3 separate regions of the Homo sapiens genome follow, and all the other regions are linked to region 1. The links are contacts of gene promoters, found by promoter capture Hi-C in blood cells and fetal thymus (Javierre and others, 2016). All regions are on one chromosome and are shown on one strand. Each heading gives the region's core, a stretch centred on a gene start or on the middle of the fragment in contact. The rest is flanking DNA. Distances are from core to core; before and after follow the strand shown. Region 1 holds the start of TMEM132D (transmembrane protein 132D). Region 2 overlaps TMEM132D (transmembrane protein 132D). Region 3 overlaps TMEM132D (transmembrane protein 132D).

The links. The method cuts DNA at HindIII sites, captures the fragments that hold promoters and counts their contacts. A CHiCAGO score of 5 or more calls a contact.
Region 2: a fragment that was not itself captured here is called in contact with the fragment with the promoter of TMEM132D in region 1 in 1 of 17 cell types (M2 macrophages); the score reaches 5.4 in M2 macrophages.
Region 3: a fragment that was not itself captured here is called in contact with the fragment with the promoter of TMEM132D in region 1 in 1 of 17 cell types (M2 macrophages); the score reaches 5.8 in M2 macrophages.

The regions. Positions count from the first base shown.
Region 1 is chr12:129,901,752-129,905,669 of GRCh38, reverse strand. It overlaps TMEM132D (transmembrane protein 132D), which reads left to right and starts at 1,645. Exons shown (of 9, transcript NM_133448.3): 1 at 1,645-2,409. The coding sequence starts at 2,331. The HindIII fragment of the contact is 8,442 bases long and covers 1-3,918 here.
Region 2 is chr12:129,168,085-129,172,002 of GRCh38, reverse strand. All of the region lies in intron 5 of TMEM132D (transmembrane protein 132D), which reads left to right. Among named protein-coding and RNA genes, the nearest start is that of TMEM132D-AS2, 39 kb to the left of the region's middle. The HindIII fragment of the contact is 511 bases long and covers 1,614-2,124 here.
Region 3 is chr12:129,190,412-129,194,329 of GRCh38, reverse strand. The region is part of intron 5 of TMEM132D (transmembrane protein 132D); the gene reads left to right. Among named protein-coding and RNA genes, the nearest start is that of TMEM132D-AS2, 16 kb to the left of the region's middle. The HindIII fragment of the contact is 470 bases long and covers 1,865-2,334 here.

The sequences.
Region 1 (3,918 bases), core at 396-2,895:
CAAATAGATGATTTACAAATAGACTCAGACCCACTGTAGCGTTAAGGATGGAACCTGGATTATGCATTCAGTGCGGGCATCAATTTTGACACTCAGAGACCAGGTGAAGGTGTCCAAGAGACGAAAGCTCAGCTCTCTCATCACTCAGGTGAAGGAGAAAGGGGACCAGTGGTTCCAGCACGTGTTCCGCAGGCCGGCAGCATCAGCATCACCTGGAACTTTTTAGGAACGGAGATCGGAAGTCCCACCTTGACCTGCCGAGATAGCTCTGGGGTGGGCCCAGCAACCCAGGTCTAACAAATTTTCCAGTGACTCTCCTGCTGGTTCAAACTTCAGAAACAGTGAAAGAGACAATCTCTTAGGGTCTTTGCAGCGTCGACTCTTAGGAATTTTACAGGAGAGCAATACAAAGAGAAAAGGCAACAAGTTTAAGAAACAAACAAAAGAAAAAACAGAAAGACAGATATATTCAGATAAGTAGATACAGAATAAAAGACAAGAGCACATCTCAAAGGACATGAACCCAGAAAAACAATCTTCGGTAGAACAGCAGTGGCTTTTTTGATCTTCCTTGAAACTTTGAAAGCTAAAAACTCTTAAAGCATTGGTATATTTCTGCAACTACAGGCATACAGGATAAAAAAGTCCATTGCCCCCTCAGTCAGATGATAACGACCCATTTTTATCTACTGAGGTGAATTCACCTCATTAGATTCAGGGCTTGTTGGTTTACAATATTCCTTAAAAATTCTGAATGCTTTTCTTCCCTCTGAGCTTTGATGGGGTTAATTTAAAGGCTCTCGTGGAGCAAAGCAGTTCTTGGGCTACAAATTACAGGACGGTGCTTAGGGATCTTGGTGTGGGAATGTCTTAGTTGGAGATTCCGGGCGGTGTTGAGAATCATGTCTTTTATCTTCTCAAAGCAATGTTGTCTCCTAATGGATCCATTTCCTTTCCCAGTGAGCCCTGGGGAGCACACGACATGTTTCTAGGGACACTAACTTGGGGGATCGCTCTGGGAAGGGGCTTGGGGCCAGCATGACCTCAGTGTGGCGTGTCAGAGACTTCCTCACTGCGATCCCTGGGAGATGCGCAGGGCGGGGCGAGGGCCCTTCTCCAGCCATCCTTGCGCTCTCCCTGGCGAAGAGCCTCAGGTGCCCCCGGGCTGGAGGACCTCCCCTGGGCCTGAGGTTTTGATGACGACGAGAGGCCGGTGGCCAGCTGGACACCTGTTGGGAGAGTGGGTGGCTCCGTCCCCGGGGTGCGCCCGCGCTGGGAGCCCTCGCCCGCCGCCACCGCGCGTCCGCGCTCGCAGGGAGGGTGGCCGGGAGGCTGGGCGTGGGGCGGCCAGGGGGAGGTGGGATTTACTTTGCGGATTGGGGCTCACAGCTGTCACTCCGAAAGGGTGGGGCTTTTTAAAAGCAGACAAATTTTTAAGGCGAAAGCCCCAGCCGGCTCCGGGCACCGTGGCGATCGCCTCCGTTCCGTTCCGGATGCGGTCCTTGCGGAGCGGAGCCCCCGCGCCTGCTGGCAGGAGGCAGCTGCGTTGCTCGGCCGCGTCCCCGAGCCGGCGGGCCCTCCTCCGCGCACATCTGGCCCGCCTCCCCCGGGCGCAGGGGGGAGCCCCGCGTCTCCGGAGCCTGCAGTGCGCTCGGCGCGCGTAGAGCCCCGCGAGCCCCAGCCGGGCCCGGGGCCGGGCGGGCCGAGGCGGCGGCCGGGGAGCAGCCGCACCCGCCAAACTTTGGGTGCCGGAGCGCGCGCGCGCCCGAGCCCCGAGGCGCAGCGGCCGGCCTGGGATGGGGGCTGCGGGCCAGGGAGCCCCGGGCCGCCCAGCGAGCCCGGCCACCCGCCCGGGGGGCTCCGAGCCGCCTCTGCCCGCGTCCCGGGCTCCGCAGCCCCGCCACCCCGGCGCCGCCTGCGCCAGCGCCCGCTAGCCAGCCCGGGAGCAGCTGGAGCCGCCGGAGCCCTGCGCCTGGAGGCGCCCCTCCTTGGGCCACCGGGGGCCACTCTTCGCTCGGGTAAACAGGAAAGGAAATACCCCCTGTGGATTAAAATTTAAAAAAAATTCTGTTGGGGTCGAAGGAGGGAGGTGGGGTTTGCCTGCGCGCGTGTTGGACTCCGGAGAGCAACTCAGGAGCCCGCGCGGTCGTCGCCTCCCGGCCTGGCCATGGACTGGCGGGAAGAGGGAGCAGGGCGCCCGGGCTGCTCGGGCCCCTAGCCGGGCGCTCCCTCGCCACCGGCCCCGCTGCGGGCCTCTAGGGGACTGAGACGGTCTCTTGTTCGCCTGGACGGCGCCGGGGAGCGGAGGATCTGCGCTCCGGGTCTCCAGGATGTGCCCGTCTGAGATGGGGACGCTGTGGCACCACTGGTCGCCGGTACTCATCAGCCTGGCCGCCCTGTTTTCCAAAGGTGAGGACGCCGCGGCCGCCAGGGCCCGGGGACTAACTTCGCCTGGAGTGAGTGTGTGGGAGTGTGTGGAGGATGGGGGCGGCCGGGAGAGAGGGCTCGTGTGCAAGTGTGTGTGCGCGCTTGTGTGCATGTGTGTGTGCGCGCGTGTGAACGTGCGCTCGTGCGGCAGCCAAGCTCCTCGGACGCCCCTTGGCCGAAGGTGCTTGTCCTGGAGCACTTGGGTGGGAGGCCTTAGGTGAGACTACTAAGGAGCCGAAAGGAAAGGAAGGCTGTTTCCTGAAAGCCTTTTCTGTAAAGGGAGAGGGCGTGGGGACCCTTGAGAGGAAAGGTGGCCTCTGGAGGGCCGAGCCGGCTGTCGGGGGAGGAGGGGATTGAGATGACCAGGGAGATTTCTGGAATTTGGGATTGACTTTCCCTGGTGGCACTGACCTATTTGGAAATAATTTTGGAGCACTCCTGTTGTATGGGAATACTATTTTGTGTATTATAGGCTGCCAAAAATATAGCCTGGGGGGCGGCTCTGAAGAAGGGGGATGGGTTTCTCCAGGTCTGCCGCTGTGAGGTTTGGGCACAGGGTCTGGCGCTCACCCTTCCGTAGGGTGCTGGGAGCAGCAGCGGCCCCGCAGGGTGCACGTGGAGTTTCAGCTACAAGTTGTGACCCGAATTTTCCCAGCGGAGCCCTGACTTGAAGCCATGTGTCAAGGCAGGAATTCCTCAATGTTTCCTCTTCTCTTCTGCCAGCATCCCTGTCTGTCATGGGAAGAGCAAGTTTGGAAGCTCTGGACAGTCATTCTTCCTTGAAGAGAAATGGTGTGATTTGTGCGGGAGATTCTTTCTCATGATTGACCTGGGCTGCTTGTGTGTGGTTCCCCCACCCGTGCCCCTTTCCTGCAGATAGATACACTGGGAGGAGAGTGAAGCGTCTCAGCAGTCTCTAATACGTGCTGCAAGAACCCTGTACCCATATTTTTCTGCAAAGATTTTTGAGATGAGATCTCTCTCAGAAACTTCAAAGCCAATTATCACGCACAAAGTCTTTTAATTACATGAATTGTCTGTTCTCTGAGTTCTTCCAGAATCACTGAGGTTATGTTGCTTTGGATCTGATAATAGATGAAGACAGTTGAAATGCCGAGTTCTGTGATGGTTCGATTTAGAAAGAGGAATTTACGTTCCCCCTCCTTCCCTGTCTTTGAAGTGTGGTTGAAATGGGCTCACGTTTCCTAATTATGAGTTAGAACAATCCCTGGGATCAGAGCCTTCTGGATTTATAATGTGCACAGGAAACCAAAGAAAAGGTTGATGAATTCAGTGAACCTGACTCAGGCAGACGTGAGGTTAAAAAAACCAAAATCCACAGCAACAACAGCCCAGCATTTTTTTTTTGGGGCGGGGGGGGTTGGTTCTCACTTGGTTTTATAATAGGTCCAGACTTCTTTGTGTTTATGCTGCAATAACAAGGTTGTATTAAGAAAGGTACAGAATAGCTTTGGAAATAGGACCTCACTA
Region 2 (3,918 bases), core at 620-3,119, 730 kb after region 1:
GAGAGAAGAAGTCAGTGCCTGGCTTCAGAGCTCCAAAGGACAGGCTGACTGTCTTGTCAGGGAGTAATGCACCTAGTAACTTTATTGAAGCCAGTGCTCATTTAGCATTCCCCAAATCCTAGGGCCCTTAAGAGTTATGCTAAATCTACTCTGCCTGTGCTCTGTAAATGGAACCACAAAGCCTGTATCGCAGCGTATCTGTTTGTAGCATGGTTTACTAAATATTTTAAGCCTACCTGTTGAGATCTACTTCTCAGAAGAAAAGATTTCTTTCAAAATATTCCTGCTTAATGACAATGCACCTCATCGCCCAAGAGTGCTGATGGAGATGTGCGAGATGAATCTTGTTTTCACACCTGCCAACACAACATCCACTCTGCAGCCTACAAAGCAAAAAGTAATTCTGACTTCCAAGTGTTACTACTTAAGAAATACATTTTGTAAAGCTATAGCTGCCAGAGACTGTGATTCCTCTGATGGGCCTGAGCAAAGTAAATTGCAAACCTTCTGGAAAGGATTCCCTATTCGCCATTAAGCACATGTGTGATTCATGGGAGGACCTCAGAATATCAACATGAACAAGGCTTTGGAAGAACTTAGTTGTTTCCAGCCCCACTAGATGACTTTGAGGGGTTTAAGATTTCAGTGCAGGAAGTCAGTGCAGGTGTGGGGGAAACAGCAAGAGAACTAGAAGTAGAAGTAGAGCCTGAAGATGGGGCTGAATGGCCACAATCTCATGACAAACCTTGAACAGAAGAAGAGTTGCTTTTTATGGATGAGCAAAGAAAGTGGTTTCTTGAGATGGAATCTACTCCTGGGGAAGATACTGTGAACGTCGTTGAAATGACAACAAAGGTCTTAGGATATTAGATAAGTTTAGTTCATTAAGTAGCAGCAGGATTTGAGAGGAATGATTCCAATTTTGAAAGAAGTTCTGCTGTGGGTAAAATGCTATCAAACAGCATCGCATGCTACAGAGAAGTCATTCATGAAAGGAAGAGTCGATCAATGCAGCAAACCTCATTGTTGTCTTATTTTCAGTCCTTGCCACAGCCGCCCCAAACTTCAGCATCCACCAGCCTGATCAGCCAGCAGCCATCAACCTCAAGGCAAGACCCTCCACCAGCAAAAAGATTATGACTTGTTAATGGCTTAGATTATCATTAGCATTTTTATCAATAACACTTTTTTTTTTTACTTGGAGTCTCGCTGGGTCGCTCAGGCTGGAGGGCAGTGGTGCAATCTCGGCTCCCAGGTTCAAGCAATTCTCCTGCCTCAGCCTCCCTAGTAGCTGGGACTACAGGTGTGCGCCACAACACTCAGCTTATTTTTGTATTTTTAGTAGAGACTGGGTTTTACTATGTTGGCCAGGCTAGTCTCAAACTCCTGACCTCAAGTGATCTGCCTGCCTCGGCCCACAAAAGTGCTGGATTACAGGTGTGAGCCATCATGCCTGGCCCTCAATAAGATATTTTTAAATTAAGGCATGAGTGTTATTTTCTAGACATAATGCAATTTCATGCTTAGTAGACTACAGTATAGTGTTAACATAACTTTTACATGCACTGGGAAACCAAAAAATTCCTGTAACTCTCTTTATTGAGATATAAGCTTTCTTGCAGTGGAGCCAAATCCACAATATCTCCAAGGTGTGCCTGTATCAACAAATATTTTCAGGGCTTATTTGCTTGCTCTCTGCACTGCAATTCATACCCCAACTCTGTTGGTGAATTACTTTCTGCTCCAAGGACCTTTGCTGCCAGCCTGAGATCTCATCATCTTTTATTTATTCACAGTTTGCATATGGTAAGAGCATGTGGGAACAGCTCCTCCTCTTTGCCTCACCCCTGACCTGGAAGGAGCAGCTCTAGATGAGAAAGGGAGTTGGAGACTTTACGATTATTCACAAAGAAGTCAGACTGCCTGGACCCAATTAAGCCCTGGCCGTGGTCCAGTGTGGCATCTGAAAAGTGTAGACATGATCAGAACCACAGCAAGCGTGAGGATTGCAGGTGCTAAATAGATCTTGTTGAAATAGAACATTTGTGTATTTGATGTAATGTGTTAGAAAATATAAGTAACATATCAAAACTGGGATTGCAAATATTTTGCTTAGAAGAAGCTTAAGGGTGTTTTTGTAAAAGAATAAAAGGTAGAATAGTGGAAGTGGTGTTTAGACACATGGCATTTTGAAAAAATAAAAATAAATGTGAAGATGTTATACACAGATGCTCAAAGCATGAGATGGCCCCTGCAGTACAATTCATTCATTCATTTAAGTGCTTCTTGAATCCCCTCTTATTGATGAAGTTCTGCTCAGCCCCTCGTCTTGATGATGGAAATATAGAGATAAACAAAAAAATCGATGAAGTAGCTTGTCCCATTGTATTTGCATGCTAAGAGGGGAATGTGTCATTTAAGATGCAATCAGATAGAAGATAACAGAACAACCAAGTAAAAGTGGTTAATAATAGGAGTTATCATCCATTCTGCATGACATCAAGCTCAGAGATTGCCAGTCCTAGATACAGCTATGTAGCAGTGCCATGCAGGGGGAGCCAGGCTGGCTTCCCAGGAATTCCTTTGACTCAGTCCTCACTGTCACATGATGGCTGCCATAGCTCCAGCCACAACATCCTCACACCATTCATGTCTCACAGTTGTGTTTTCTGCCTGGCCACAGCAGATAATTGTGTTTGAGACTCCCAGTCCACAGACAAGTAAAGGATGAGTGAATGCTCCAATGGTTCTTCTCAGAGCAGGACCCCCAGACCAGCTGCATCAGCATCACCTGATAACTTAATAGAAATGCAAGTTCTTAGGCCCCACCACAGACCTACAAAATCACAAACTCTAGGGCTGGGGGCTGGAGATCTGCATTTTAACAAGCTCTTTGGATGGTTTGGTTGTGGGTTGAAGTTTAAAGACGGCTTTACGAAAATGCTATTTGGGTAAAAAGCAGCCTGATTTCAGCAAAGGTATATTTGAAAGGTAGATTCTTAGAGTGATACAAAGTAGATATCAAGAGCTAGGGCTCTAGTCCCTCTATCGGCCGCTAGCTAACTGTGGGATTTCAGGAAGTCAGTCAGCCTTCCAGGGTTTTGTTTCTTTAAATGGTGATGGGAGTTGGGTAGAGTTTGAGAAGAGAGTTAGTTAGGTCAGCGGTTCTCAACCAAGGGTGATTCCCCACCCAGGGGACATTTGGCAATATCTGGATACCTTTTGGGTTCCCATCAAAATAAGATGAGATACCACCAGCATCTGGAAGGTAGAGGACAGAGATGACACTACACAGCCTATGACTCATAGGACAGCCCCACGAAACATAGAATTATCCAACCTTAAATGTCTGTAGAGCCCAGGTGGAACCCCCCTGGGGGAGGTGAACTTGAGGGTCCATCACAGCTCTGGGAACCACAATACAGGTGGACCTTGAGGACGTCATATTAGGTGAAGGAAGCTGGACGTGAAAGGCATGTCTTATATAACTCCATGTATATGACATGTCTAGAATAGGAAAATCCATAGAGCGGAAAGTAAATTAGGGGTCCACAGGGGCTGGCAGGAGCAGGAATGAAAGTGACTCATAATGGGTATGGGGATTCTTTTGGGTGTGGCAAAAATTACATAGTGGTCATGGTTTCATGACTCTGAGAATATACTAAAAATCACTTAATTTTATACTTTTAAAGGATAATTTGTGTGGTATGTGAATTATATATCAATAAAGCTCTTGTTGGTAAAAAAAAAATCCCAAAAGAGGAGATGGATTGAGGAGCCCAAATAGCAGACTCCTTAGTGGAAACCATAGTTAAAACTCTTAGAGAAAGCTGCAATTTTTCCAGGGACAATACCTTCACTGTTTTCAAAAGGGAACACATTTTCCAAGAATCATCATGACTGTTCCTTCTATTAACT
Region 3 (3,918 bases), core at 850-3,349, 710 kb after region 1:
AGATGGCTCTGTCAGTCCAGTTCAGAAAAGAGTAAACCTATGGTGAGAATAGCTGCAGGGTTAGTGTTCTGGATGTAAAGATAAGAAAACAGGGGTGAGGTTAGGAAGAGAGGGGCCCAGCCCTAATTGCTTCTCCATATTTTCTGTTTTCTACATGGAGAGGAAAAAAATGGGACAGCAAATTGAAATTCTTTATCAGCTTAAATGAAAACAAGGAGCCATGGACCAAGGGTTCCTTTAACAGGTACTGGGTAGGTAATGAAAGCAAACCATGAGGATTGCAAATGATTGCTTCCTAACCCCTGAAGGTCAAAATGCCAAAAGTCAGGCTTTAGAGTCCAAACAAGAGACATGGTCAGAAGAGCTTCAGTTTAAGAGACGTTCAAGAAAAATCTTCACTATAGGCAAATTTTACCTTTCTGTAGACTTTAACTCTTAGGTAAAATGTGACTTCATCACACTTAGCACACATTGTAGTCCTCAGTTATCCATGAGTGGGCACATCTGATAGCGTTGGAGGAATTCAAGACTGGGGAACATGTCTTACTCATTTCTATATTCCTGGACTTACCAGAAGGCCTGGTATGTAGCAGTTGCTTAATAAATAATGATTTGTTGAATGAATGGACAACAAACCCATCTTTGTATTAAAAATTGATGAACATCCAATGAGATATAAAGTATTATATCCTTCATTTCCCTTTTATGGTATTTCCAGTTAAATTGACTTTTTAACACACATACTTTGTGTTTAATAGGTTATTTTAGTAAAATTCGATTTTGGATGTGTTATTTGCAAAATGCTCTAAAGCATGATGGGCAAGATACTATGGGTCAAGGGATTTGTAATGGTGCCACCTGGTGGCAGCAGCCCAAATTGCAGGCATAGCACCTTCTGGGTTTCTAACCTGCCTGTAAGGGTTAACGTGCTGATTTGCCTCCATTTCTGCGATGGAGAATTATTTACTTTCAGTTCTGTGACCACAAAAAAAAAACATTGCTATGTGAAGAAGGAAAACATATTGGCAACAGCTGCATTAAAGCATGAGTTATATGCCATATGTCACCTTAAAACCTCTAACTAAACATGCAGGCAATTAAACACTGTATCACATACAGAGTGCATGTAATTGGCATAAAGCTGTTGTATCTTTTTTTTTTTTTTTTTTTTTGAGACAGAATCTCACTCTGTCACCCAGGCTGGAGTGCAGTGGCACGATCTCGGCTCACTGCAAGCTCCGCCTCCCGGGTTCACGCCATTCTCCTGCCTCAGCCTCCCTAGTAGCTGGGACTACAGGCACCTGCCACCGCGCTCGGCTAATTTTTTGTATTTTTAGTAGAAATGGGGTTTCACTGTGGTCTCGATCTCCTGACCTCGTGATCCGCCCGCCTCGGCCTCCCAAAGTGTTGGGATTACAGGCGTGAGCCACCGCGCCTGGCCTGTTATATAATTTTTGAAGCCCAACATTAGAATGGTAGTGTTGTATATAGTGATTTAGGATTTGAACCTCCTTTGGTGCTAAAACGAGGCGCCCAGCTACCACCAGGCACATCACAGTTAAAATGTATCTGAGTGTGCAACACACCCGCTGTAATTCAAACCCCCCATTTGTGCCACAAAATCTCACCAGTGGAGGCAGTGATAGATAATTAGTACCCAGCCAGCCCTGTCCTCTGATACAAGAGAATAAAGATTAATAAGAAGAGACACCAATGGCAAAAATATGTGAACAACCCTAAATTTGAGATTATATTTATCCAAAAGGGGTATTTTTCATGATTAGTCTTTCAGGGCCTTAAAGTTTCTCTTATAAGAATTTGCCACAGAATCTTGATTTCAATGTTAGAGTCAGTTACAGAAGCTTCTGCCATCTTTCCCCTCATGGGAAGGTCTTTGATCCAAGAAGAGAGGAAAAACAAGTATCACATAATGAGTGTGTGTGATCAAGATGAAAACCAAGCTCAAAGTTCTTCTAAGTAAAACTAGTGATGATACACTTCTTACTTTGGAGGTCATGGCTACAGTCAAGGAAGACAATCGGTGGATTCCAAATTCCAAATGAGAACTTCTATTTGGATTCTGATATTCTTGAGCAACATTTATCATGACAAGTCACCCAGGATGGAGGCCCCAGGGGTCTCTTCCAGACCTCCCCAGTGAGTGCAGACGCAGGTCAAGGTAGTAGGAACCATTCGAGGTCCAGCCAAGAGTAAGACTCAGGCCCTGGTGAAGACCAGAAGTGAACACTGTGCCTCCACTAGATGTGAATTTGTTTTCTACAGGGCCAGGTTCAGACTTTAGAGACCCAGGGTTCAGAAGATATGATGGAAGCTTTCGTACAGAATTCAAAATTAAAATGTTTGTAACTGATTTGAATGAAGAGTCTTTGGCATAAACATAAATAATTTAACAAGTGTTTATTGAGTTTCTGATACATGCAAGCCACTGATCAGAGTGCTGGAGATTAAGCAGTAACAAAAAAGTCCCTGCCCCTCATGAGTTTCCAACTGGAGGACAAAAACAGGAGATATTTCGTGTGTGTGTGTGTATGTGTGTGTGTGTGTTCTGTGTGTGTGTATGGTTCATTATATCCTGTGATACAGTTTCATATATATAGCTTCCTCTTTAGAGAAGAAAAATAGGAGATATAGAGATATATGTATAATCTCCTACTGAGATATATATAAATATACATATATATCTCCTATATCTTATATAATTAGTATCATATATGTAGTTTCCTTTACAGAGGAGAAAACTAGGATACACACATACATCCACATATATCTCATCTCCTATATAACCTATATATAGCTATATTTATGTATATTTTATTTTCATATATATCCTTTATAATAGTTTCATATATATAGTTTCCTCCATAGAAAGGAAAATGGGAGATATTTTCATATAGATCTCTCTATTCTGTATTCTATATGTGTAATTTCTTATACATAACCTATTTTAAATATACATGTATACATCCCATATCCTATGTAGAAGTGTGTGTGTGTGTGTGTGTGTGTGTGTGTGTGTCCTATTTCCCTTCTCTGTGTCTTTTCGGCAAGATATGTGTATGTATGCACACATATATGTATAGCATATGTTATAAACATATGTACCTCACTGAAAAGGTGGCTTTGAGTAGATTCCACATAGGCTAACTGAGCAAGTCATGTGATGGTCAGAAAGGAAGAAGAGTTCAGGCACTGTGGCAGGAAGTAAGGCCCACGTCCCTTGGAGAGGAAATAGCCAGGTCTGAGGAGTCAGAGATCAGCACCACTGGCAGTGACCCGGAGGGGGCGTCTGGAGCCGGGTCTGGAAGGAGGGGAAACAGCTTGCTGGAGACCACAGGCCACACCTGAGACTACACCTTTTGTGCGGAGGCAGCACCCGGAGCCTGTCCTGAGGTCTGAGGGGGTCTCACCGGCAGGACAGCAAGAGCTCTGGGCTGCTCCACTGAGAACAGAGAGCTAGGATATGGGCTCAGAATCTGTATTAGTTTCCCACCACTGCTGTAAAGGACTACAAATTTAGTGGCTTAAAACAACACAAATGTGTTATCTTACAGTTCTGTAGGTTAGAAACAAACCTGAGTTGCGCTGGGCTAAAATCAAGGTCTCAGCAGGGCTGCCTTGTTTTCTGGATGTTCTAGGGGAATATCTCTCCTTGACTTTCCAGCTGCCAGAGGCCCCCACATGTGCAGGCCCTAGACCCCTCCCTCCATCTACAGGCCCCAGACCCCCTCCCTCCATCTGCAGGCCCCCAAGACCCCTCCCTCCATCTGCAGGCCGAGACCCCTCCCTCCATCTGCAGGCCTGAGACCCCTCCCTCCATCTGCAGGCCTGAGACTCCCTCCCTCCATCTGCAGGCCTGAGACTCCCTCCCTCCATCTGCAGGCCGAGACCCCTCCCTCC